Linked DNA regions of Homo sapiens: all the other regions are linked to region 1. The links are contacts of gene promoters, found by promoter capture Hi-C in blood cells and fetal thymus (Javierre and others, 2016). All regions are on one chromosome and are shown on one strand. Each heading gives the region's core, a stretch centred on a gene start or on the middle of the fragment in contact. The rest is flanking DNA. Distances are from core to core; before and after follow the strand shown.

The links. Contacts are between HindIII fragments. The CHiCAGO score rates a contact against its expected background, and 5 or more counts as called.
Region 2: a contact is called between a fragment that was not itself captured here and the fragment with the promoter of HADH in region 1, in 1 of 17 cell types (total B cells). The highest score is 6.4, in total B cells.
Region 3: the fragment with the promoter of MCUB here is called in contact with the fragment with the promoter of HADH in region 1 in 6 of 17 cell types (activated CD4 T cells, naive CD4 T cells, non-activated CD4 T cells and 3 more); the score reaches 11.4 in activated CD4 T cells.
Region 4: a fragment that was not itself captured here is called in contact with the fragment with the promoter of HADH in region 1 in 2 of 17 cell types (non-activated CD4 T cells and naive CD4 T cells); the score reaches 5.5 in non-activated CD4 T cells.
Region 5: a contact is called between the fragment with the promoter of CASP6 here and the fragment with the promoter of HADH in region 1, in 5 of 17 cell types (activated CD4 T cells, total CD4 T cells, fetal thymus and 2 more). The highest score is 10.8, in activated CD4 T cells.
Region 6: a fragment that was not itself captured here is called in contact with the fragment with the promoter of HADH in region 1 in 1 of 17 cell types (naive CD8 T cells); the score reaches 6.4 in naive CD8 T cells.
Region 7: a contact is called between a fragment that was not itself captured here and the fragment with the promoter of HADH in region 1, in 1 of 17 cell types (total B cells). The highest score is 6.9, in total B cells.

The regions. Positions count from the first base shown.
Region 1 is chr4:107,988,596-107,992,406 of GRCh38, forward strand. It overlaps HADH (hydroxyacyl-CoA dehydrogenase), which reads left to right and starts at 1,294. Exons shown (of 8, transcript NM_005327.7): 1 at 1,294-1,469. The coding sequence starts at 1,338. RefSeq lists a silencer at 1,061-1,290. The HindIII fragment of the contact is 11,946 bases long and covers 1-3,811 here.
Region 2 is chr4:109,443,129-109,446,676 of GRCh38, forward strand. All of the region lies in intron 1 of SEC24B (SEC24 homolog B, COPII component), which reads left to right. Among named protein-coding and RNA genes, the nearest start is that of SEC24B-AS1, 11 kb to the left of the region's middle. The HindIII fragment of the contact is 4,493 bases long and covers 1-3,548 here.
Region 3 is chr4:109,558,622-109,562,369 of GRCh38, forward strand. MCUB (mitochondrial calcium uniporter dominant negative subunit beta) reads left to right here and starts at 1,625. Exons shown (of 8, transcript NM_017918.5): 1 at 1,625-1,815. The coding sequence starts at 1,717. RefSeq lists a silencer at 1,572-1,891 and an enhancer at 2,312-2,511. The HindIII fragment of the contact is 4,460 bases long and covers 963-3,748 here.
Region 4 is chr4:109,730,640-109,734,279 of GRCh38, forward strand. It overlaps a transcript of CFI not described here. Among named protein-coding and RNA genes, the nearest start is that of PLA2G12A, 2.4 kb to the left of the region's middle. RefSeq lists an enhancer at 1-425. The HindIII fragment of the contact is 3,342 bases long and covers 1-3,158 here.
Region 5 is chr4:109,701,959-109,705,910 of GRCh38, forward strand. It overlaps CASP6 (caspase 6), which reads right to left and starts at 1,487. Exons shown (of 7, transcript NM_001226.4): 1 at 1,398-1,487. The coding sequence starts at 1,437. RefSeq lists enhancers at 89-148, 909-968, 1,859-1,908 and silencers at 1,149-1,258, 1,409-1,698. The HindIII fragment of the contact is 4,197 bases long and covers 1-3,145 here.
Region 6 is chr4:109,511,298-109,515,147 of GRCh38, forward strand. It overlaps SEC24B (SEC24 homolog B, COPII component), which reads left to right. Exons shown (of 24, transcript NM_006323.5): 9 at 660-786; 10 at 2,450-2,559. Among named protein-coding and RNA genes, the nearest start is that of MIR576, 25 kb to the left of the region's middle. The HindIII fragment of the contact is 4,764 bases long and covers 1-3,850 here.
Region 7 is chr4:106,304,166-106,307,774 of GRCh38, forward strand. All of the region lies in intron 2 of TBCK (TBC1 domain containing kinase), which reads right to left. Among named protein-coding and RNA genes, the nearest start is that of TBCK, 10 kb to the right of the region's middle. The HindIII fragment of the contact is 2,513 bases long and covers 1,087-3,599 here.

The DNA of each region.
Region 1 (3,811 bases), core at 44-2,543:
GTTATTACAGTTAGAATAACAACATGAAGAAAGTATAATCACTCAACTAATTTGACATTGTGACTTCCATACTGAGACAAAACAAGGTTCTGGTCAATCTCGTAAAACTGAGAGGCTGACCCAAAGGAGGAAACTGTTATTAAATTAAATCTGGCCTAAAGTTGCCTCCCTACCTAGCAAAGCATAATCAAACCTAATATGTAAATAAACTGCAATGTAATTTGAGAGTACGTTCTTCTAACAAGTGGCCAAGTCTTGGCCAATCACCGCAGCGGAGCTTTTAGCCCATTACAGGCTGCAAAAAATATTGTCTATAAACGCGGCTTGCCCACTGTTAGGGGCTGGAGCTCTCTGAACCTTTACTGGCTCAGGATACTACATGATTCATGCTTTCTTTGCTCAGATAAACTCTGCTAAACTTGTTTGAAGTTTTTTTGTTAACAATATTTAAACATAAAGCAAATAAATTAATAAGAATCCTATATCACTAAGTTACAGTAATTAGAAAGTATTCACCTGAGTGAGAAGATTGGCCAAGCTGCTATCCAGTCTTCCATTATTTGACAAGACATTTCTTTCCTATGCTTTCTAATAGTATTCGTTATTCCAGAAAGGTTGCTCTATGACCTTAAACCGTCCACATGTTCACTGCACTGATAGACGTCCAACGTCAAGATGGGTAACTAAAGGTCAACTCTCTCTTTACCTTCCCTGAGCCTGATTTTTGCATTGTAACTCATGGTCACTAGACATTTGTTTTGGGTGTTCGCAGTCTACATTTATTTCCCTTTTAGGGGAAACAATCACTGTCCACGGGATTAAAATAATCCCGAGTTGATTATTTGGTGACATCAACCAACGGTGCACATTTTGGGTCCATTACCAACACAGCCAAGCAGCACATATTTCTTCAGAGCCTAGATATGCACATGTCATCAAAGGATAGCATTTTACAGAGTCAACACCACTCACTTCATAGAACAAGGGGCCAGTGGCTTTTCAGAAGAAGGGTCTGTTCTCGGCCCCACACCAGAACGCCAGCCGCCAGGTCCCGCTGCTCAGCAGGTCTCAAGCCCGCGCTCACTCGGGCTCCGGCTGCTGACAGCTGCGAGCCCGCGCGTGTATACCCGCTCAACGCTGGGACGTTACAGCCAGGGCCAATGGGCAGAGCGGGACTCGAGGCCCCGCCCCCGCCTTGTGGCGTCACGGGGACGCCGGGGGCGCGCGGGCTGCAGGGCCGCGTAGGTCCCCGCCCCCAGAGTCTGGCTTTCCGCGGCTGCCCGCCTCGCGCGTCTTCCCTGCCCGGGTCTCCTCGCTGTCGCCGCCGCTGCCACACCATGGCCTTCGTCACCAGGCAGTTCATGCGTTCCGTGTCCTCCTCGTCCACCGCCTCGGCCTCGGCCAAGAAGATAATCGTCAAGCACGTGACGGTCATCGGCGGCGGGCTGATGGGCGCCGGCATTGCCCAGGTGAGCGGCCCTCCCTGCAGCGTGCCCACGCGCTTGGCCGCCCACCCTGAGGTGGAAGCTCTGGCGCGACCGGCCGCGAGGGGCCTGCACCCGCCCGACACCAGGGAGTTTTCACCCCGCGCCTCCCGGGTGTAGTTGAAATATCTCGCGTCTGGGCCTGTGAGGGCCCAAGTCTCACTCCCCTCAAAATTCAGGGTTCTGGGCCGATCCTCAGCTTCCTCGTTTGGAAAATTCTGGCTGCCCCCAGGGCCCGCTGAAGGTTCCATGGAGAGTGGCGGTGAATGCATTTTGGAAGCGGGCCGTGCAAGAGAAGAAAGAATTGTATGTGCACAAGGTTCAGGCATAACGCGTTTGTTCCTGCTCGGCTCAAACGGGAGTTTGCTGCCAAAGACATGAACTGCGATCAGTTTTAATTCTATCAGTTATTTTTGATTTTTATTCTGTAATTGTGCAGTCTTTGTCAAAGTAGTTTTCTCTCCTAAACGGCCTCCCGGCTCTCCCCGGTCTTTCCTTCGCTTGCTAGGTTGTAAAGAATAGTAGTAGTCATGACTTTTGTAGCACTTTGTAAAGTCACCTAATGGAAGATTGCTGAGGTCCTGGTTTTGACCTTTGAAATAGTGCCGTCTGTGCAGAGTTCTGAGCTTGCGATTTTGGCGCTGCAGCGGAATAAGTCTCTCTCTTTTTTTTTTTTTTTTTTTTTTTGAGTCGGAGTCTCTTTGACCCAGGCTGGAGTGGAGTGCAATGGCGCGATCTCGGTTCACTGCAACCTCCGCCTCCCGGGTTCAAGCGATTCTCCTGCCTCAGCCTCCCGAGTAGCTGGGATTACAGGCGCCCCGCCCGGCTAATTTTATATTTTTAGTAGAGACAGGGTTTCACCTTGTGGGTCAGGCTGATCTCGAACTCCTGACCAAAGGTGATCCGCCCGCCTGGCCTCCCGAAGTGCTGGGATTACAGGCGTTAGCCACTGCACCCAGCCGGAACAAGTCTTTTATCCATTGTACATCTTCAGGGCTTTTCCATTGTTCTGCTGAGCTGTGGTTCAGGCTCAGTTGTGCGAGTGATTGATTACCTGGCTACTGTAATGCTTGTACTTTTTTTTTTTAAAAATTATTCCATTTCAGCTCACATTGGAGAACCATGGTTTTCGTATCCTAGCTGATTATATTCTTAGCATTTCAGTCCTTTGCAACTTGGTTTGTTGGGGAAGGCGGTTATAGTCATCTAATTTTTCTTGGGGACAGTACTACTGTGGCTACAGTCATGAGAGAGTTTACTTTTTCAATGTCTTGTTTCCAACCAAGTCCACGCTTTCATGCTTGCTTTTTAAAAACAAAAACAAAAAAACCTTTTACTATTAGGTATTATATATCTCAATTTTCTTCTCCTTGGCAAGTTTTTTACAACGTTTTTATTTGATTGCATTTTCTTCTAAAAGCTATATCCCTGTAATGTTTTATTTATATGACTTCTTACAGTCTCCCATTTCCTCTGAGACCATAATTTTGGACATACATTGCCCTTTTTATTGTGTGGATCCCCTGGCTGCTAGGTTATAGTATCCCCATAATCTATGTTGTATGTGGACTGGGAGGAGTAACTCCCTTTAACCTAAAAGTTCCACAGGTTATACTCAAGAGAAAGTTTAGTTTGAGTACGTTTGTATTCCCAGGCTCCACCCAAATCTCCCAAGGCTGTGAGAGTGAGATTTGTTGTGAGCAGGAATAGAACAATGTGTTTTTTAGAAACATTTTAACAACATCTTAGTAACAAAATATTAGGGCCTTAAGCAGCCTCCAGGAACATTATGGGAAATGGATCCAGAAACTTGTGGCTGGTGTCCTTGAAGACAGCAGTGGAAAAAGATTAGAAACTAAGTAGAAAGCGTCACTTCAACTTTTGTAGAAAATCAGAGTGCTTAGTTCTTTGAATGCTGCATCCATCATTGGCCAAAAATGGATGTTGTGTTGCATTAAAAGGCAGAGGGGCAATACCTAAAATTACAGGTATGGTGTTGGAGCTTTCACCTGACAAAGGAGTAAGGAGAAATGATTGACATTAATGGAGAACACAGGCTTGTGCTTGTCAATCAAACTCTTAAATAGGTGGACCAGGGAGTGCCTTTTGAAACTTAAGGGAAAAAAAAGCTATTTATGCCATAGGCTGGACACATAATGGAACTGTCATTCTGAAAGGTTATAAAGACCAGAAATCTATAAAGTGGACGACCATAAGAAACAGTTCCATCCTTATGTAACACAGTTTGGAAAAACCTCAGTTACTTTAGTTGACAGCTCCAATCCTCTAAAACATTTGTGAGCAATGCTTTGCAGTGGTTTAGCTTA
Region 2 (3,548 bases), core at 115-2,614, 1.5 Mb after region 1:
TCTGCCTCCCTTTCCAATGGTGACCTTACTTATTTTACTAAGAAATTGAAAGCAATCTGACAATCTGAAGATAAAGTATTAATCTTCTGCCACCAAATCTGTCAGTCTTCCTGCATATTATTCTTGTGTTATCTGAGACAAATTCAGATTATTTGGGTACAGAATTCTGTTCCCTCTCTTTTAAGAACTTTGTCCCTCCGATTATCTCATTTACCATCAATTTTGATCTTAAACACCTGAACCTTATTTTATGCAATGCATATGTAATCCTAACAGTTATATATAACTTTTATTTTAGAGACGAGATCTCACTGTGTTGCCTGGGATGGTCTCAAACTCCTAGGCTCAAGTGACCCTCCAACCTCTGCCTCCCAGAGTGCTGGGATTACAGGCATGAACCACCATGCCTGGCCTATAAATTTAATTTACAATTCCTAGCAAATATTTATGTAGCTCCTCTTTACATAACATTTTGTGCTAGATACTCTGGGCATACAAATGTGAATGTTCTCTGCACTCCAGGAGTTCTGTACCCCTCAGTAAAAGAGGAGAGGACTGTCAGCACTGAACATGTGTTTCCTTCATAAGGCCTGTGAGAAGGGTGCCCAGAGTTTTGAAGAGGAAACAATTCTTTTTGGTTAAAGTAATAGGGAATCTTAAGGGAGGAAGTTAGAACTTCAGCTATATCTAAAATGATGGACACATTTTGAATTGTCAGGTAAAAATGCATGAATCAAAGGTAAGGAATTTAAAAAACGTACTCTGAGCAGTGCAGGGGTACAAGGGAGAGAGAGTAATGAAAGAATGGTTTGGGCCCGGTGTGGTGGCTCATGCCTGTAATCCCAGCACTTTGGGAGGCTGAGGTGGGTGGATCACCTGAGGTCAGGAGTTCGAGACCAGCCTGGCCAACGTGGTAAAAACCCATCTCTACTAAAAATACAAAACTAGCTGGGTGTAGTGGCGAGTGCATGTAATCCCAGCTATTTGGGAGGCTGTGGCTGGAGAATTGTTGGAACCCGGGAGGTGGAGGTTGCAGTGAACCGTGATCATGCCATCGCCTGGGCAACAAGAGCTAAACTCCATCTCAAAAAAAAAAAAAAAAAAGAATAGTTTTTACAATTATGTTGGGGCTGCTAATGGAAGTTCCTAGAAATTGTCCTAAGAAGTTTAGACTTCATTTGGATCAAAGAAGAGCCATTAAAGATTGTGTGGTAAGGAATGTTAAAAAGTACTCTGGTGGTGTTAGTAATGAATTAGAGGGAAGTGAAAGTAGAATAAAGGGAAGTCAGGTAGAGAATTTTTCAAACCAAATCGTATTTCATATGCCCTAAAGAGATCCTGTGATTTTTTTTTTTTTTTTTTTTTGGTACAGGGACTAGACTTGCATGAAATATTTGTTTTATAAATTTTAATTTTCATGTTAGGTTTTCTTAAAGCAAGAGAATCAGTTTTCCTTTGGTGAGAATCTGGTGTCTGAAAGGAGGTTATGCTACTGAGACAGATATGTCCTGGGGGTAGATCTTGTGATAATTTAGTCCTGCTAAGGAGGGCATACATGCTTATAGAAAATCATAGGCTGTATCTTGCTGGCACATGATATATCAGTCAGGCTGACCAGCTGAGCAGCTCCATTGAAAATATTATAGACCATTTGTTAAAAATATTTTATTTCTTCATTCAGATTGGTACCAGTGAGTAGATAATGTGTCAGAATCATCTGTTTCCCTCTTTTATTTGACATAGTTCACTTGAAGCTAAGAATATAAAATTCTTTCAGAGATTATATAAAAACTGAATTTTTTTGTTTTGTTTGTTTTTGTTTTGACACAGGGTCTCACTCTGTCACCCAAGCTGGAGCGATCACTGCTCACTGCAACCTCGATCTCCTGGGGTCAGGTGATCCTCCCACCTCAGCCTCTTGAGTAGCTGGGACTACAGGTGTGCGCCACTACACCTATCTAATTTTATGTAATTTTTGTAGAGATGGAGTTTCACTCTGTTGTCCAGGCTGGTCTTGAACTCCTGGACTCAAGCAGTCTGCTGCCTCAGCCTCCCAAAGTGCTGGGATTACAAGCACGTCTGGCCATTTTTTTAGTTTTTTCTTTCTTTCTTTGTTTTTTTTTTTTTTTTTTTGAGACGGAGTCTTGTTCTGTCGCCCAGACTGGAGTGCAGTGGTGCAATCTCGGCTCACTGCAAGCTCCGCCTCCCAGCTTCACACCATTCTCCTGCCTCAGCCTCCCAAGCAGCTGGGACAACAGGCGCCCGCCACCACGCCCAGCTAATTTTTTTTTTTTTTTTTTGGATTTTTAGTAGAGATGGTGTTTCACTGTGTTAGCCAGGATGGTCTCGATCTGACCTCGTGATCCGCCCGTCTCAGCCTCCCAAAGTGCTGGGATTACAGGCGTGAGCCACGGCACCCAGCCTGTTATTTTTATTATTTTATTTTATTTATTTTTTTGAGACAGGGTCTCACTCTGTCACCCAGGCTGGAGTGCAGTGGTGCAATCTTGGCTCACTGCGGCCTCAATCTCCTGGGCTGAAGCAAGCCTAGCACCTCAGCCTCCCAAGTTACTGGGACTACAGGCACAAACCACCACACCTGCGTAATTTTTTATTTCATGTTTGTAGAGATGAAGTCTTACTATGTTGCCTGGGCTGGTCTCAAACTCCTGGACTCAAGCAATCCCCCTGCCTCAGCCTCCCAAAGTGCTGGGATCACAGGTGTGAGCCACCGCACCCAGCCTGTTTTAGTTTTTCAGTGATTATTTGATGCTTATGTAAGGCATTGTATTGGGCAATTTGGGGAGTGCAATAATCAAATTAATTTATTCTAAGATGCTTTTTTTTTTTTTTTTTACATTTTTTACCTCTGAAATTGGGGTGCATTTTAGAATCAGTGGAATTCTAAACTTGCTTTCCATAAAGTGAAATCATAATATAGTTGTGTGAGAATCTGCCATTGATACCTGATGTGGTAGGCTGAATAATGGGTTCCCCAGCTATGTCCATGTCCTAATCCCTGAAACCTTTGCAGCAGTGATTAAGTTAAGGATCTTGAGATGGGGTTTTCCTGGAACTTGGTAGGCCTGATACAATCACAGCAGTTCTTATTAGAGAGACACAGGACAAGTCAGAGCCAGCAGCGAAGGAAATGTGAAGACAGAAGCAGAAGTTAGAGTGATGTGCTTTGGAGATGGAAGGGGCCACAAGCCAAGGAATACCAGTGGCCACTAGAAGCTGGAAAAGGCAAGGAAACGGATTGTCTCTTCAGAGTGTCCAAAGGGAACCAGCCCTGTCCCTTGACACTTTGTAGCCCAGTGAAACTGATTTTGGACCTCTGACCTCCAGAACTCTAAGAGAATAAATTTGTGTTGTTGTAAACACTGACTTTGTTGTACTTTGTTATAGTAGCAGCAGGAACCTAATACACCTGTGAAGATAAATAGTGGCAGTATCAAAACACACCTTAGATATAATGAAATACGATAGATTTTCATTTCTTTTTGTTAAAAACACTTTTCTTATACGTGAACAGGGTAAAAAGTGTA
Region 3 (3,748 bases), core at 375-2,874, 1.6 Mb after region 1:
CCCACCAGGAGGAAGAAACTCCAAACATGTCCGAACATCAGAAAGAACAAACTCCGGACACGCTACCTTTAAGAACTGTAACACTCACCACCAGGGTCCGCGGCTTCATTCTTGAAGTCAGTGAGACCAAGAACCCACCAATTCAGGACACATTATCAAGATTCTTCACAAATGTTAATAGGGATTTTTATCAGTTTTAGTTGTAGTTTCCAATTTCTAAAAATGTTCAGGTAATTTTTTTACACCTTTCAGAACCTAGCTCATGAGTGTTGAATCAATGCTTTTTCATGTCAATTCTTTGTATAGGCATTCTTTTCAGTTGTATTAAACAAGAACCCTTCACAACAAAAAAACAAAAATACACGCTTCTTTCACTTGGAGCACTAGCTAATAGGAGGAAAAGATTCAGGTAAGGTAATTTACCTTCCCATATGAACTTAAAGTTTCATGTGTCACTCTCCATCTGGGGCAACTGTATTTTGAAAGACATGCTAGTTAACACAGGTGAATCAGCCTTTAATAGTGATAAAGTTTTTACTATAGTAGAAACTTGTGATTCTTTCCCTTTTCAATAAGGAAAGGAGATTACCGCCAGGAGTGATTTGCCACTTATTGCAGGTTTGCCAATTTTGATTCATTAACTGAACCCTCTTGCAGATTCAGGAGATAAAAATGCGGAGTGCCCAGTTAAATTTGAATTCAGATAAACACCAAATAATTTAGTATATCCCAGATATTTCATTTTTAAAATAATAAATGTGACCCATGCAATATTTGGGACATACTTCACTATTTGTATCTAAAATTCAAGTTTAACTGGGCATCCTATATTTTATCTAACAACCCTACTGTAATTGGTTTAGGTTGCTCTTTAATGCCTTTGGTTTGCTTTCAAAAATAAGTAGTCTCAAAACAAAGCATCCGATTTCCCAGTAGTTAGAAGAACTCAATACCGGTTCCGAAGCTTCTTCAATTAAAAACGTGCTTCAAAAGAGAAGCCAATTCTGTGGGAGATACTTTCCCAAAAAACTCGGGTTTGGGCCCCTATACCGTGAACTACAAACCTCCGCAGGGGTAGGCCCGGGCTGCCCGCCTCACACCGCACTCGCCAGCGAGCAGGGGCCCGGCACCGCAGCCCGGGGCAGAGGCCTTGGAGGTTGTGGAGGTGGGAGAGGCCTCGGCCGACCCGCTTCAATCCGTCTTCTCCAAGCTCGGTGGGGAAAACAAACTTCCTGAGCGGCCCTGCCCCCTCCAGATGCCGGACGCTGTTTTCGTCTCATCCCCGTCTGGGTTGGATGGCGAAGACGGCGCTCAGAGCACGCAGCACCGGGAATTAACAGCGAGTTTTGAAATCTAGAGCTCGCAAGGTGTGCGTCGCCTGCTGCTGTTCATTCCAGAGGGTCTTCTGCTGGAGAAGGAGGGGGCCCTCGACCTCGGGCTCCCGCTCTCGGGCTCCCGCTCTCTCGCTCTCTTTTTTTTTTTTTTTTTTGGTCGGAGGAAAGAAAACAGCCCTGCGCCCGGATGCGTAGAGAGCCGACAAGTGGAAACAGGGACACACCCTCCCGTGAGCCCGCCCAAGCTGGAGCCGCGGCGCGCTGAGCGAGCAGGCGGGGCGGGAGCGCCCACAGCTCGGAGCCACCAGGCGCTGACGAGGAGCCCGGCTGAGGGAGGATGCGCCGCTGACGCCTGCGGGAGCCGCGCGCCTGGGGCGGGAGGATGCTCCAGAGGGGCCTCTGGCCGTGGCGCACGCGGCTGCTGCCGACCCCTGGCACCTGGCGCCCAGCGCGCCCGTGGCCGCTGCCGCCTCCGCCCCAGGTAAGAGCGGGTGCCGGGCTGTGGGGGTTCGGGGTAGGCTGGTGCAAAGTTTGCGTTGGACAACTTTGGCGGGAGCAAAAGCCGAGCGGCCGAGCAGTCAACTGCGTTTTGCTGGCTGCCGGGCTCCGCGCGCCGGGCGGTCCCGACAGGTGGTGGCCGGGCGGCCGACGTGGGTCACGGAGGCCTGGGCTGAGGTCAAGACTCCGGGCCCGGGGAAGGTGAAGCCAGAGCGCTGCGGCTGGGGGTGCCTCACCCGGGCCGAGATAGGGTGCGGGGACCACCAGACTTCGGCCTGGGAGCAGCAGAATAACCTGGGAGGCAGTTTCTGGGCTGCAGCTCTCGGTCAGGAGCAAGTTTCCAAAGCCGCTGCGCCGCGGGGCCGGTTCCCTCTTGGTGATCAGTGCCCGAGCCCCTAAGGAGCCCGGAAACGATGAACGGGGCAGTGACCGTCCCGGGTGTGGACGGTCGCAGGAGAGTGAAATTTCCATCCTGAAATCTGCGAGCACCTCCCTTTCCCAGAAGGAAGAAAAACTCGCGTTTTGTTCAGACACCCGAGAGACGGGTGAATCATGAGTGTGCTGGTGAGTAACAGTTGGCCTGACACCGTTGTATTGTGGTCTGTGGAGAACCGTGGCTTGGAGGAGTAGAGAGTGGATGTGCACCAAAAAAGACTAGAAGAAGGGGAAAGCGCTGAGTTTAAGGAGGATTGCGATGGAGCCTGACAGGAGCCCGGGAGTGCAAACTCTGACCCAGATGAGGAAAGACAGCCAAAGCCTTCAGGGTGTGTGTGGTTGGGGAGGGAGCTGTTTCTGAGTTTTCGTTTGTTCCTCCCCCACACTGTTAAGATTACTTTCAGATTGTTAAAGGCTTAAAAGCCAAAAAGTAAGCAGTGTGATTCTCTTGTCACTTTCACTTCCTGTTTATTTTGTTCTTTTTTTTCCTTCCCCCCCTTTTCCTCCAGCTGTCTGAGGGCTTCAGTTTCAATTGATGCAGGGAATATTTAAGTGCATTTTTTTTTCCTTTTCATTGAGCTTGTGACCAAAGGATTAAGTGCATTCAGAAAATCAATTCCAGGAATGTTTGAAAGAGAATGAGGAAGGCCATGTTGTTACTAAATGTAAGAACAGGGGCAAACTCCTTAAAATGTAAAATGGTAGACTTATAAAGTCATTGGGGAGATGGGCTTTTTATACTTTTAAAGGTTGTACTTTTACTGTAAGTGTTGCATTGTGTAGTCAAAGAGATACCAAACATTAAAACAACCCAATACGAGGAACCCCTTTCACATGCCATTTTAAACACAGATTATTGTTTTTTGTTGTTGTTTTTGGAGACGGAGTCTTGCTCTGTTACCCAGGCTGGAGTGCAGTTGTGCGATCTCGGCTCACTGCAACTTCCGCCTCCTGGGTTCAAGCGATTCTCCTACCTCAGCCTCCCCAGAAAATAGGATGACCGGCGCGCGCCACCGCACCCGGCTAATTTTTGTATTTTTAGTAGAGACGGGGTTTCACCATGTTGGCCAGACTGGCTGGTCTCGAACTCCTGACGTTGTGATCCGCCCGTCTCAGCCCCGCAAAGTGCTGGGATTACAGGGGTGAGCCACCGCGACCAGCCCCAAGTGTTTTCTATTAAGTCCATTTAACACGTTGAGTAGCATTTTTGTGGATCCCGGGACTGGCTGCCCTTTCTCAAATTATCACCTGCAAATCCTTTTCTCCATATTTCCCATCTGATGCTGTCTAGGGTGGTGCCATTGCATACCTCAGCAGGAATGTGGATACCCTTTTAAAAGAAAATGGTACCATCGGGCTTATTAGGCCTAATAACAGGGAAACAGTAGTTAGGAATCATCGTAAGAAGCGTTATGTTTGAATGTTTCTAATTTGCAAATTTTTGTTTTAAGCCAACTGTCCAGCTATAAAGACAATTTTCA
Region 4 (3,640 bases), core at 238-2,737, 1.7 Mb after region 1:
ATCTGCTGTGGCCGCGGTTGGGGGAGCGGGATCTGGAAGATGCCAACCCATGCCTTGGCGGTGCCTGACTCTAATCAGGACGAGCTAAATGCTAGTTTAGACTTTCCGGAAAAAGAAAATGGGCCAACATAAAAATCATAAAATTCTCCCCTGGTAAGGAAGAAACAGTAGTGTAAACTTAAATACAGTAAAAAGTAAAATAAATCTTAAGGAAGTCATTGTTTTTCTACTCAAGGGATTTTGTAACTTGATAGTTACAGTGACGTTTGTTTCTCTGTACCTACCACCCTGCCCCCAGCATTGTGCGGGATCCATAAATAACTATTGCAGTAGTACTTTGTATCAGTTGTAAATATCTGGTTATCTTAGTATCACAGCAGTTTCCAAGAATTTTACAGTAAGATCCAGAGCAATGTTGAAAGTATTGGGCAGACCAAGCGCGGTGGTTTACGCCTGTAATCCCAGCACCTTGGGAGGCCTGGAACTCCTGAGGTCAGAAGTTCGAGACCAGCCTGGCTGACATGGTGAAACCCCATCTCTACCAAAAATACAGAAAATTAGCTGGGCGTGGTGGCGGGCACCTGTAATCCCAGCTACTCGGGAGGCGGAGGCAGGAGAATCACTTGAACCCAGGAGGTGGATGGATGTTGCAGTGAGCTGAGATTGCACCACTGCACTCCAGCTTGGGGCACAGAGCGAGACTCTAAAAAAAAAAGAAAGTGAGTAAGTATTGGGCATAGGTGTGTCCTTTCTATAAGAATTACCAATAAGTTCTAGGTTTGGCCTTTTGTGTTTGTTACAAACTAAATGAGCTTATAATAAACGTTCAGTGCACAGTTCATAAAAATTACATCCCTCTTTATTGAGTGCTTACTATGTGCCAGGCACTTCATGAATATGATCGCTCACATTCAGAACACTACTTTACAAGGATGCAGACTTTGGGCAAGTTAGAAACATAGAAAGGCATTCCTCCCTACAAACAGGGTAGCCCAACAAACGGTGTAGCTCCTGGCTGGAGACTGCCTGCACTTCACTCAGCCCCTCAACCAGGAGTCTTGGGCAGTGATTAATTCCTACCACAATGGAGAAGGGGGAAGAATGTTCCCTGGAAGGTATTATTATCTTCCTCTTTTACAATAAAAGAGTCGAGGTGAGAAGTCATGTGACAGTATCTACTCCAAACCAAGGCCTCTGTCTTCACAAAATACCACAGATATTTTTATTTTTTAATTTTTAGACAACACATTTCAATACATTTTAAAAAGGGAACTTAGAATCATTGTCTTAGCTTTCTGGAACATTGGTTTCTCAGCTCCAAAGTATGAAAGTTGGACTAGATTACCTCTGAGATACCACCACCTGAATCCTTAAACCAGGCTTGGTTCTTACAACTCCCTAGTCCAGGGACAAGACTTTCAAAAGAAAGGATAGAATGTAATAAAATAACCTAGTTCCAGCCCTCAGTTATGACCCAAAGCCTCTCCTTTCCCCCACTTTCTCTATTTATTTACTTCTTTGTGATCTCATCTAATTTCTTACACCTTAACTACAGCCTATACTCTGAGGAATCAGACGTAGTTTTCTTTGTCTGATCTCTCCTTAGGGATTAAATTCTCAAATGCCAGTTCTTCTGGCTTGATGCAGCTGTTCTCTTTCTCTCAAGCAAATCTTTCCACTGTCTTCCCCATGAGAATCACCACCATTTTTGTAGAAAACAAGACTCTAAGTTTTATTTTCACATTCTTTTCACATTTAATCATTATATATTTGTTGTTCTGCTGCAGTAATTACAAGGTTTACGTTTTCCTCTTAATTGATGCTGTTAAATACCAGGGATCTGCACTGACCACAGACTATCTGTATAATTTGTAGGGCTCAGTGCAAAATAAAAATACAGAGCCCCTTGCTCAAAAATTAAGAATTTCAAGGTGATGGCCGGGTGCGGTGGCTCACGCCTGTAATCCCAGCACTTTGGGAGGCTGAGATGGGCAGATCACGAGGTCAGGAGATCGAGACCATCCTGGCTAACACGGTGAAACCCTGTCTCTACTAAAAATACAAAAAGTTAGCTGGGCATGGTGGCGGGCACCTGTAGTCCCAGCTACTCGGGAGGCTGAGGCAGGTGAATGGCGTGAACCCGGGAGGCAGAGCTTGCAATGAGCCAAGATCGTGCCACTGCACTCCAGCCGAGGCCACAGAGCAAGACTCTGTCTCAAAAAAAAAAAAAAAAGAATTTCAAGGTGATAACAGCAGAGCATTAAAATAAGTACAGAGCCCTTTTGACTGTGGGGCCTTGTGCCACTACACAGGATGCATGCTCTGATTTACCATATCATATAAATTTTTTTTTTTTGAGTCTGGCTCTGTTGCCCAGGCTGGAGTACAGTGGCACAATCTCAGCTCACTGCAACCTCCGCCTCCCAGGTTCAAGCTATTTTCCTGCCTCAGCCTCCCGAGTAGCTGGGATTACAGGTGCCCGCCACCACACCTGACTAATTTTTTGTATTTTTAGTAGCAATGGGGTTTCACCAAGTTGGCCAGGCTGGTCTCGAACTCCTGACCTCAAGTCATTCCCCTGCCTTGGCCTCCCAAAGTGCTGGGATTACAACATGAGCCACTGTGCCCAGCTCATCTCACGTAACTTCTAGATGACCCACTTCCATCTTTTCTTCCCAAATTTTGGCATAAACTGTTTGAAAAGAGCCTTCTTTACAGGACACTTTCATCTAACCAGCAAAACCTGTTATTTTCATGACAGACATCATTAGTTGCAAATCCACAGCTGTGTTCCAGGTCTTTCCTGCTAGAGAGTGGCTAGCTTGTCTATATATACTTTGTGGTGGGCAGAAGCTGAAGATAGGAAGTCAGTTATGATACAGTAATCTAGGTATGGCATAAGTATGGCTTGGTCCAGGAAAGGAGCAGTGGAGGTGTGAAAAGTGGTCATATTCTAGATGTAACTTGATGGTAGAGCAGAAGGGATTTGCTGATGGACTGAATATGAGAGAAAAAGAGGAATCAAGGATGGCATTGAAATTTTGGCCTAAGCCACAGGATAGAGAGAGTTCTAACTGTCAGAAATGGGGAGAATTGTGGAAGGAGAGGGTTTTGCGGGAAAATTTTAAAAATAAATTTCAGTCATACCATATCCAAGAAGCTTATTCTGAGTCTGCAGTTCAGCATAAAGGTTAGAAACGCATTGGGAAGTTGTCAGAATAGAAATGGCTTTTAAAGTCATGGGGCTTAGCTGGGCGCAGTGACTCATGCTTGTAGTCCCAGCACCTAGGGAGATCAAGGCTGGCAGATCGCCTGAGTCCAGGAGTTCAAGAGCAGCCTGGGTAACATAGCAAAACCTTATCTCTATAAAAAAAATACAAAAATTAGCCAGGCATGGTGGTACATGCCTGTAGTCCCAGCTACTTGGGAAGCTGAGGTAAGAGGATCCTTTGAGTCCGGAATGCAGAGGTTGCAGAGAGCCAAGATTGCGCTATTGCACTCCAGCCTGGCAACAGAGCAAGACCCTGTCTTAAATAAATGAATAAATAAATAACATGGGACTAAATGAGATCCTCTAAAAAGTGAGTGTACACAAAGAAGCAGAGCAAGGTCTAAGTCTTAGGAGGTCAAGGAAAAAAGA
Region 5 (3,952 bases), core at 237-2,736, 1.7 Mb after region 1:
CTTCGGTCATTCTACTGTCATCGTCTTCATTCACTGCACTCTCTATGAAAATCTACCCATCGGCTCCATCAACAATGTATTTAGTAACCCTATGTAGAGTAACCTCCATCAGGCCTAGAACATGCACTGGGGAGTGCGGTGGAGGAAGAAGAGGAAGGGAGCAGGTGAGTGAAGGAAAGCCCCGGCTTCCCGCCCCTAGAGACTGCAACTGGACCCTGCACTGTGCCTCCAGGACAAGGCTACCTATCTACCTCCTCTACGACCATGTGACTTTTACAGCTTGCCTCTGGAGCACCATTTCCTTTGTGCAGCAAAATATAAAGAGTTCTTAAACAAAGGCACTCTAACCAACTGCAGGCGTTTCGTTCTTTTTTTTTTTTTTTCTTCTTGATTCGAAGTCTCACTCTGTCGCCGAGGTTGGAGTGCAGTGGGGCGATCTCGGCTCACTGCAACCTCCACCTCCAGGGTTCAAACGATTCTCTTGTCTCAGCCTCCCCAGTAGCTTGCGCCCAGGCCTGGCTAATTTTTTTGTATTTTTAGTAGAGACGGGGTTTCACCGTGTTAGTTAGGCTGGTCGAGAACTCCCGACCTCTGGTGATCCGCCCGCCTCGGCCTCCCAAAGTGTTGGGATTACAAGGCGTGAGCCACCACGGCCGGCCAACTGCAGGCGTTTCGACCTTTTTGTTTGTTTCACTCTGGCCAGGCTTGAAGTTTCTAAACTTTACCAGTAATAAGTGACAGAACGTACGCTCTTAGCAGTTGATTACTTTGCAGAAAAAAGTTATTGTGGTTTTGGCTCAAACCGACAGACAGCAGCAGGTTTCCTGGATGAAGAAGAGAGATACCGGGGTGTGCTGGCCGCCAGGAACTGGCCGCCTCCAGCTGAAGCCCGGGAGGACCCAGGGTCTTGGCCCGGGCACCCCGCGGGCCTGTTATGTTTTCATTATGACTCGGCGGAACAACCCCTCCTTTTCACTTTTCGAAGTGAGCAAACAAAAGATCCAACCCCCAACATTTCAAACGGCCAGGTGTGGGGGAACGCCAGGCCCGCGTGGGGACAGCCTTTTAAGGTTTAAACAGCCGGGGCGCCCCGAAAGCGCTCATCGCCCCGGAGGACAAAGGCGGCAGGGGCACGCCCCGGCGCCGGCGTCGCTACTCGGGACCGCCAGGAGGCGGCAGCCAGGTCCCCGAGTGTTTCTTAGACTGAAGCGCGAAACCGTCCCCACCCGCCCTGAGCGCTTCAATCCAAGAGTGCAACTTCTCCAGGCCGCCCTGCAAAGCCGAAGGAACCCGCGGCCCCACTCCGGTCCGCGCGCCCGGTCCACTAACCCTCGTTTCCCCTCCAGCCGGAGCAAGACGCAGACCTGCTCGGTGCCCAGTCGACGCCCCCTGCCTACCTGCCGGGTGCCCCCTGCGGAGCCCCGAGGCCGAGCTCATTGCAGCCAAACGCGCAGCCAGACACCTTGCCCTCCTCTTCCTGAAGCCACAGGCTCCCGGGCCCGGCCCCGCCCTCGGCCCTTCCTCGGCGGCCCCGCCCCCTGCCCCCGAGCGTGGGGCCAGTTGGTTCTGATTGCGCGCCGCCCGGGCTCCCGTGGATCGGGCTGGTCCTTCCCAGAGTTAAAGCTCCTCCCAGTCGCTCCGGAGCCCGCGGGGACCAAGAGCGCGGGGGCAGGGAGAGGTACGCGGTCTTCGCCTCCAGGCCCGCTGGGACTAACCGTGCCCTGGGGACATGCCAGTTGCCACCCGGGGGGACACACAGACCGCCTAGCCCGAGGCAATTTCACATCACTTGTGTGAGCTCGGACTCATTTAATCCCAGCTGCCCCAAACATTTGCTATTCCTTACTTTGCTATGCCTGTACTTTCTAGAGGTACAGGCATAGATTGTTTTATACCGCTTAGCAGATACTGCCTGTATTTCAACATTGGCTCGCTTTGTGTCTCTGTGTCACATTTTGGTACTCTCGCAATATTTCAAAATTTTTCATTGTTATTATGTCTGCTGTTGTGATCTGTGATCAGTAATCTTTAATATTATTGCAATTGTTTTGGGGCACCATGAACCGCGCTCATAAAGGAAGGGGAAATTAATCCATAAGCCCTGTATGTGTTTGGACTGTTCCACCGAACTTTCCCTTCTCTCTCCCCCTCCTGGGGCCTCCCTATTCCTGGAAACACAATTTTGAAATTAGGCCAACTAATAATCCTACAAAGGCCTCTAAGTGTCCAAATGAAAGGAAGAGCCTGTCACTTTAAATCAAAAGCAAACATGATTAAGTTAGTGAGGAAGTAATGTTGGTAGGCAGAAAGCTAGGCTTCTTGCTCCAGTTAGCCAAGTTGTGAGTGCAAAGGAGAAAAGCCAAGTCATGAATGCAAAGGAAAAAATTTTGAAGGAAATTAAAAATGCTACTCCAGTAAACACACAAAAGACAATAAAGCTAAACAGCCTTATTGCTGATATGGAGAAAGTTCTAGTTGGTCTGGATAGAAGATAAAAACAGCCACAACATTCCCTTAAGCCAAAGCCTAATCCAGAGCAAGGCCCTAACTCTTCAATTCTATGGAGGCTGAGAGAGGTGAGGGAATTGCAAAAGAAAAGCTGGAAGCTAGCAGAGAGGATGGTTCCTGAGGTTTAAGGAAAGAAACTATCTTCATGACATAAAAGTGCAAGGTGAAGCAGCAGGTGCTAACGTAGAAGCTGCATCAGGTTATCCAGATCTAGCTAAAATCATTGATAAAGGCAGCTACACTAAACAACAATCTTTTGTTTTTGAGACAGTCTTGCTTTGTCACCAAGGCTGGAGTACAGTGGTGCGATCTTTTGCAACCTCTGCCTCCTGGGTTCAAACGATTCTTCTGCCTCAGCCTCCCAAGTAACTGGGATTACAGGATGTGCCACCATGTCCAGGTTAATTTTGTATTTTTAGTAGAGACAGAGTTTCACCATGTTTGGCCAGGCTGGTCTTGAACTCCTGACCTTGAGCAATCTGCCCGCCTCGGTCTCCCAAAGTGCTGGGATTACAGGTGTGAGCCACCGTGCCCAGCCAAAACAACAGATCTTAAATGTATATGAAACGGCCTTCTATTGGAAGAAGATTCCATCTAAGACTTTCATAGCTAGAGAGAAGTCAATGCCTGTCTTCAAAGCTTCAAAGAACAGGCTGATGCTCTTGTTAGGGGCTAATACAACTGATGACTTTAAAGCCAACATTCCTTTACCATTCTGAAAATCCTAGTGCCCTTAAGAATTATGCTAAATATGATCTATAAATGGACCAACAAAGGCTAGTTAGTGACAGCACATCTATTTACAGCATGGCTTAGAGAATATTTAAAGCCCACTGTTGAGCTCTAGTGCTCAGAAGAAAGGTTCCTTTCAAAATATTACTCCTCATTGACAATACACCTGGTCATCCAAGAGTTCTGATAGAGATGTACAGAGACTGATGCTGTTATCGTGCTTGCTAACACAACATCCATTCTGAAGCCCAGGGATCAAGGAGAAATTTTGACTTTCAAGTCTTATTTACAAAATACATTTCATAAGGCTATAGCTGTCATCATGATTCCTCTGATAGTTCTGAGCAAAGTAAATTGAAAATCTTCTGGAAAGGATTCATCATTCGAGATGCCATTAAGAACATTTGTGATTCATGGGAGGTCAAAATATCCACTTACGGTATGTAACTAGAGACTAGAGGGGGAAAAAAAGAAAAACGAAAAATTAAAAGTACATGTATCAGCCACAGTGGCTCATGCCTGTAAACCCAGCACTTTGGGAGGCCAAGGTGGATTGCTTGAGGCCAGGAGTTTTGAGACCAGCCTAGGCAACAATGCAAGACCCTGTCTCTACAATTTTTTTTTTTTTTTAATTAGCCAAGAGTGGTGGCACATGCCTGTATTCCCAGCAACTCAGGACACTAAGATGGCAGGATTATTTGAGCCCAAGTTT
Region 6 (3,850 bases), core at 780-3,279, 1.5 Mb after region 1:
CAGATATGTGGTTACTTGCATAATAATAATCATATATGTGAAAAAATTAAATACAAAGATCAAAATGTTCATGTGCAGATAGAAAAAAACAGAATGATATACTAAAATGATAGCAGGTTAATTCAGAGACATAGAATAATATGTGATCTCTTAATCTTTTTTCATATTTTCTAAAGTTTCTACTTGAATATAAAATTCATTTCCCAAACTAAGCATAGAGATGTAATTTTTTTTAAAGGCACGTTGTGTTTGACTGCTTCTGGCCTCAGCTCCTGTCAGAAGTTGCTGTGGCAGTCTAATGAGCAGTGCCTAATAGTCTAGTACCACGTGCAGTCAACAAAGACAAAGGTATTTGTATATGGTATGTTTCTCTCTCACTGTTATTTCTAAAGTTAAACTGATAAGATCTCACTTACATTATTTTCTTGGCCAATGTTTGTTATGACTTTATTTTAGTGTTATGATTTGTGACAAGAGGGAGAAAACTTGATGGCTACATGTGTTGCTCAACATGTCCCTGGATTTTATTAATATGCTTCCATATAAAACCACATAAAAACAATTAAGGTTTATGTTCTGTATTTGGAGCAGATCTGTGTACGTTCTGTTTTTCCTTGGGGTGCCTTTTTCTGCTACAGCTTCTTTATTTTATTTCCTAGCAATTACCAGTGATAACATCAAATACCATTGTGAGGTGCCGATCCTGTCGAACGTATATTAACCCCTTTGTATCCTTCATTGATCAACGTAGATGGAAATGCAATTTGTGCTATAGAGTAAACGATGGTGAGTTTTAGATTCTTAATTGTGTTTTAATCCTATTTTCAGGTTTTTTTTTTTGAGATTTTTGTCATCTCCTGGTTTCTCTCTTCATTGCTTTAAAAAGAATTTTCATGCCATTTTTAGTAGAGGGAATATAGGCTAAGGCTAGGACTAGGGATTCTTCATTTTGGCTGACCAAGGGGATAATTGACAATGAGGAGAGTAACAGTGAGGACAAAGTAAGAAAAATAGAAACAGTGACACTCATGCAGGTGAGCTTATGCAGACTAGTTATGCTTGTCCCTGACAGTAAGATTGTCTTACATTTGTATATTTGGTTCATTCAACTCAGGTAGAACTTTGCCAGTGTATCTGGATGCATGCATGTATATATGTCTGTCTCTTGTTCCCTTTATTCATTTCTTCGGGTTCCCCTACTAGAGTTGCTTTCAAATTTATGTTTCTCTGTCTGATTTTTTTCCATGTCATTTGATATAATAAATAGGATACAAGTCTAAGAAGGAAGGTTACTTGCATCCTGGTTTTCTCACCTGATTTCAGAACATAAGTTTTTTTATCCTTCTGATCTATTTTTTTTTTTTAATTTTTTTTTTGAGACAGGGTCTCGCTCTGTCACCCAGGCTGGAGTGCAGTTGCACAATATGGCTCACTGCAATCTCTGCTTTCCAGGTTCAAGCTATAAGTTTTTCTCATGCCTCAGCCTCCCAAGTAGCTGAGACTACAGGCTTGCACCACCACACCTGGCTAATTTTTGTATTTTTGGTAGAAATGGGGTCTCGCTATGTTGGCCAGGCTAATCCTGAACTCCTGGGCTCAAATGATCCATCCACCTCAGCCTCCCAACCCAAGAGCTGGGATTACAGACATGAGCCACTGCACCTAAGCCTGATCTTTTTTTTTTTTTTTTTTTTGGAGATGGAGTCTCACTCTGTCACCCAGGTTGGAGTGCAGTGGTGCGATCTCAGCTCACTGCAACCTCCACCTCCCGGGTTCAAGCAATTCTTCTGCCTCAGCCTCCCGAGTAGCTGGGACTACAGGTGTCTGCCACCATGTCTGGCTAATTTTTGTATTTTTAGTAGAGATGGGGTTTTACCATATTGGCCAGGCTGGTCTCGAACTCCTGACCTCGTGATCTTCCCCGCCTCAGCCTCCCAAAATGCTGGGATTATAGGTGTGAGCCACTGCGCCTGGCCCCCTGATTATTATTTTTTTTTTTTTTCGGAGACAGAGTCTCACTCTGTCGCCTAGGCTGGAGTGCAGTGGTGTAATCTCAGCTCACTGCAACCTCTGCCTCCCAGGTTCAAGCAATTCTCCTGCCTCAGCCTCCTGAGTAGCTGGGATTACAGGCGCACACCACTATGCCTGGCTAATTTTTGTTTTTTTAGTAGAGACGAGGTTTCACCATGTTGGTCAGGCTGTTCTCAAACTCCTGACCTCGTGATCCGCCCGCCGCGGCCGCCCAAAGTGCTGGGATTGCAGGCGTGAGCCACCGCCCTGATCTATTTTTTAAGGAGGGCTTAAGGGATTGATTTTTACCATTAAATGTTCGCAGAACTGTTGCTAAACCTCGTGTAAATATTGATAATAGATATTTATTTTTAGGTGTGTATATATGTGTTTAGTTACAAATTGTGTCTCTAAATTTGTACTGGGACCTCTTATCTAGTTCCTGAAGAATTTATGTATAACCCCCTTACCCGATCTTATGGAGAGCCTCATAAACGACCAGAAGTTCAGAATTCAACTGTGGAGTTCATTGCTTCTTCAGATTACATGGTAACTATTCAGTGTTAAGATTTGTTATGGAACACAATTACATTGGTCATTTGTAATTTTCTGTTAAGTGAACTCTTATCGAGATTTTGAAGTTGTTTATACTCATAATTTTTAAAAACAAATTAATGCTGGAAGTTTATATTTAACAAAGAGAAAATCTTTCTAAAGGTTATTCGATCTCCTAGAAGGCTTTCTATGAATAAGAAATGTTAGTTCTGTCTTATGATGGGCACTAGCATCTATGACTTGTTGCCATTTTGATTTCCTTGCATGGAATGGATATAGATACCCTTTTACCATTTAACATTTAAGACTCTCAAAACAGAGAAATGCACATTTTTGCCCAAAACTTAAGTTTTTTCACCAAGATACCAAGATAAGTGGATATGGACTTCTAATTTTTTCTTCTGTTGCAATTAGAAAATTCTGTCTCTTCTTTAATTATATGAACTGTAAGATCTCATTCTTCTTTTCACTTCAAAAACGAATTACTGGCCCTAAGGTTTGCTCATCTTCGTTATCATATCTTCTCTTTTTAACATATTTATAAAAACTGTATTGGCTGGGTGTGGTGGCTCACGTCTGTAATCCCAGCACTTGCGGAGGCTGAGGTGGGTGGATCACCTGAGGTCAAGAATTTAAGACCAGCCTGGCCAACATGGTGAAACCCTGTCTCTACTTAAAATACAAAAATTAGCTGGGCGTGGTGGTGCACGCCTGTAATCCCAGCTGCTAGGGAGGCTGAGGCCGAGAATTGCTTGAACGTGGGAGGGGGAGGTTGCAGTGAGCCAAGATTGTGCCATGGCACACCAGCCTGGGCAACAGGGGAAGACTCCGTCTCAAAAACAAACAAACAAACTCAAAAAACTATATCTTCTGTAGCTACAACTCTAATCCTTGTTGTCCGCAAAACTTAAACTGCTGCTAGTGAAAAGGAGTAAGCGATGTGCATTAAATTTTTGGCGCCTGGCTCATCTTTATTTTTGTAATTTTTGTGTTCTTTTGTGTCTAATTTGGCATATGCCCACCTAACTACCATTTTCATGTTTGTTTCTGTATTAACTGTAATAAACTTTATCTTGATCACTTTTACTCTCAAGCCCTACCTTCTTTATGATTTATTATTTTCCCACTCCATATTGGGTCCTTAGGAATCTTAATCTAATTGAAGTGGTAAAGCAAGAAATAATCTTTTAAGTTTTGCCATATGATTCATATGGCCCTTGGTTAGCACATTTTTATTTATTTATTTATTTATTTTTGAGATGGAGTCACGCTCTGTCATCCAGGC
Region 7 (3,609 bases), core at 1,093-3,592, 1.7 Mb before region 1:
ACAGTGGTCACCCTGCAGGCTATAACCCTTATGATAAATAAAGCTCTCCTTTCTAAGTTTATGAACCTCTTCATTCTTCAGTGTACCTCCCTCACACAAAAAAAGGTGGGGGACAAAAAGCTACAGAGACTTCCCAGTTCAGAGATTAACACCAAAAAGAACAATAAAGCAAACCCATAACAACAGACATAAGATCAGATCAGAGATCTCAGATCCTCATACCAAATAAATTTCTATACCATAGTCTCCATAGTTCATCTAGACAACAGATTGTACAAACATTATAAAGCTTTAAATTGATATTTTTTCCACGTTTAAGTATCTAGAAATTAATTTCTTAATAAGCTGCCTCATTATAAAAATAATTTGAAGCAGTTAGATTTACTTCTTTGCCCTGGCCTATAAGAAGTATACAACCAAATTTATAGTCCAACTAAAAAAATATTAATATTACTAACCTCAAATCTTATTCTGTTTCCTTTCTCCCTGAAGAAAATCAGAATATGCCATCTCAAAATATCCCACTTTGACATAAGGATTTTGAGTGAAGGCAATTAGCTCTCTTCTCTCTCCATTTCTGTCTAAGCAGAACATAAATCTCCCTCTGTAAAGATGAAAGGAATTTCCATTTGATAAATTCCATTTGGAAATTATCCTCTCCTACACTAGGAAGAGGAAAATGACTCTTATCTACATAACAAACTTACTAAGTAATTCTTATTTACCATGCATTTCTGAGTCACTTTCTCAAATCCCAAACCCCTCTTCCTTTGTCTACCCTCTTCTCTATACTTTATTTCCCTTTGTGAAGATGGTATATAAGCCTCAATTCTAACTACCTCCATGAGTTGCATTTCTTTGTGAAATCTGTGCCTATAGATTAAATCTGGGTTTGTTTGTTTTTTTCTCCTGTTAACCAGCCTTTTATCAGTTTGATTCCTGGGACCTACCATTAAGCATCAGAGAGTAGAGAAAGTTTTTTTTCCTTTTTTACATCTTCACCTTGATTATTTTTCTTTCATGTACTATATATAAAATACTGTATGAATGTCTGCATCTTGTCTCAAATTATTTTTGAAAAAAGTAAGCTTGTAATTAATCAAGAGACATAAATGTCTTTTTAAATTAAGAATAATTAATAATGATATTAAGACTTTGTTTCCTAGAAATATGTCAACAATAAAAGGCCAACATCTTTTGAAAATCCATTAATTTTTGAGACTACCAGCATCATCAAAATGAATGAATGTAAGCAAATAAAACATAACAGACAGAAGAGCCATTGCTCTGTGGTCTAAAGTCCTTTATCCCACCAAAACCTTTTATATATGAGTTTGATTAATATATATATATTTTTTATTATTTCTTATCTTTAGAGACAGGGTCTAGCTCTGTCACCCAGGCTGGAGTGCAGTGGCATGACTGTCAGAGGCGTGTGAACCAGAGCAACTCCATCTTGAATAGGGGCTGGGTAAAGTGAGGCTGAGACCTACTGGGCTGCATTCCTAAGAGGTTAAGGCATTCTTAGTCACAGGATGAGATAGGAGGTCAGCACAAGATACAGGTCATAAAGACCTTGCTGATAAAACAGGATGCAGTGAAGAAGCTAGCTAAAACCCATCAAAACCAAAATGGCCACTAGAATGACCTCTGGTTGTCCTCACTGCTACACTCCTACCAGTTTACAAATTCCAAGGCAACGTCAGGAAGTGACCTTATACGGTCTGAAAAGGGGACGCATGAATAATCCACTCATTGTTTAGCATATAATCAAAAAATAACCATAAAAATGGACAACCAGCAGCCCTTGGGGCTACTCTGGCTATGGAGTAGCCTTTCTTTTATTCCTTCACTTTCCTAACAAACTTGTTTTCACTTTACTCTATGGACTTGCCCTGAATTCCTTGCCGCACAAGATCCAAGAACCTTCTCTTGGGGGTCTGGATTGGGACCCTTTCCTGTAACATGATCATAACTCACTGCAGCCCCAAACTCCTTGTCACAAATGATCCTCCTGCCTCAGCCTCCTGAATAGCTAGGACTACAGGAACAAGACACCATGCCTGGCTAATTTTTTTTTTTTTTTTTTTTTTTTTTTTGGTAGAGACAGAATCTTATTACATTGCCCAAGCTGGTCTCAAACTCCTGGCCTCAAGCAATCTTCCTGCCTCAGCATGCCAAAGTGCTAGGATTATAGGCATGGGCCACCATGCTTGGCCTTGATATTCTTCAACGCAAAATTAACATTCTCTTCTTTGTACTTCCATAGCATAGCATAGCACATTGTACATCACCTATTATAACAACTATTACTGTATTATTTAATATTATCATGGTTGTATTTTTCTCTACTGTTTCTGAAGCTGACTTGGGACCTGGGGTAATGAGTTACTCATTTTTGTATATTTGGCATCTAGCAGAAGGAGGGCCATAGTATCAGTCAAGGGTTACCAAGGTATTATAACCCCAGTGTACATGTTTGTCAAAGCAGTGGACAAGAAAGACAGGTTCCTAAATAAATCTTCAACTCATCAGCACCTTTATTACTTTTGCTTCAAAGCTAGGTTTCTATCAGCTCTGACTTCCCAATTTGTTCCCTACAGAGAGAGACCCTTAAGGCCTCAACATGGCACCACCCATGCTCTTGCTTGAGGGATTAAGCCAAACATGACAGGCATTTACTAATATTTGCAGAATCAATCAATCAAAGTCAACCTTGAACAGTAAAAGAAGTCTCAATAAAATAATGTATACTTTAACATGTCTGTGTGTATATACCTATATGTCAATATGAAAAAACAAATTTTTTTTTATCATCTGCTAGACAATTAACTTTTTTTACCACTCTCTTTCCCAAATCTCTCACGAAGCCTCCTGACAACATCTAACTATTTACAGCACTAGGTATGTGGTAGAGCTCAACAGTATTTATGGTACGGAATAGCTCTGATTAGAATTCTGTCAATATTTGCATTATTATACACTTACAGCAACATGTACAATCTTTCAAAAAATAATAAAATGTATTAGCAGTCCATTTTTCCTTAATTTCCTTCGTGTGCCCTTGGATGAATTAATTGTGAACCTTGACTTAATTGCTCTGTGGTTTAATTTTCTTATCTGTAAAATGACAGGACTAGTTCCTTTCACACAGTAATGTTACAAGGATTAAGTTAATTAAAATATGTAATTAAAATATGTAAAACACTAAGAATATTGCCTTATATAAACGCTCAATAAATTTTAACGATTAATAATTATCATTACAAAAAAAATTTCTACTCAGTCTATAAAACACAAATATTCTCAGAGTAAATATTTTAAGAGAAATAAACCAGGGAACTTGAAAGTACAGTTTAGTCTATTTTCAGCAAAACAGTAAAGAAAACATTGTTTGCATTTATCAGGGTTTTTAATATTAGGTTGAAACACATAAAATTGCCACTTTTATAGGGAAAAAGTTGAATATCACCAACTACATAGGGTTTACTTTCAGATTTTTTTACGTCTACAAATTATTTTATGTTAGAAAAATTAAATACATTTCACTGAAATGCATTTAAAATATTTTTAAGAAATGCAACCTTACCCTGCAATTAAGCTTCCAAA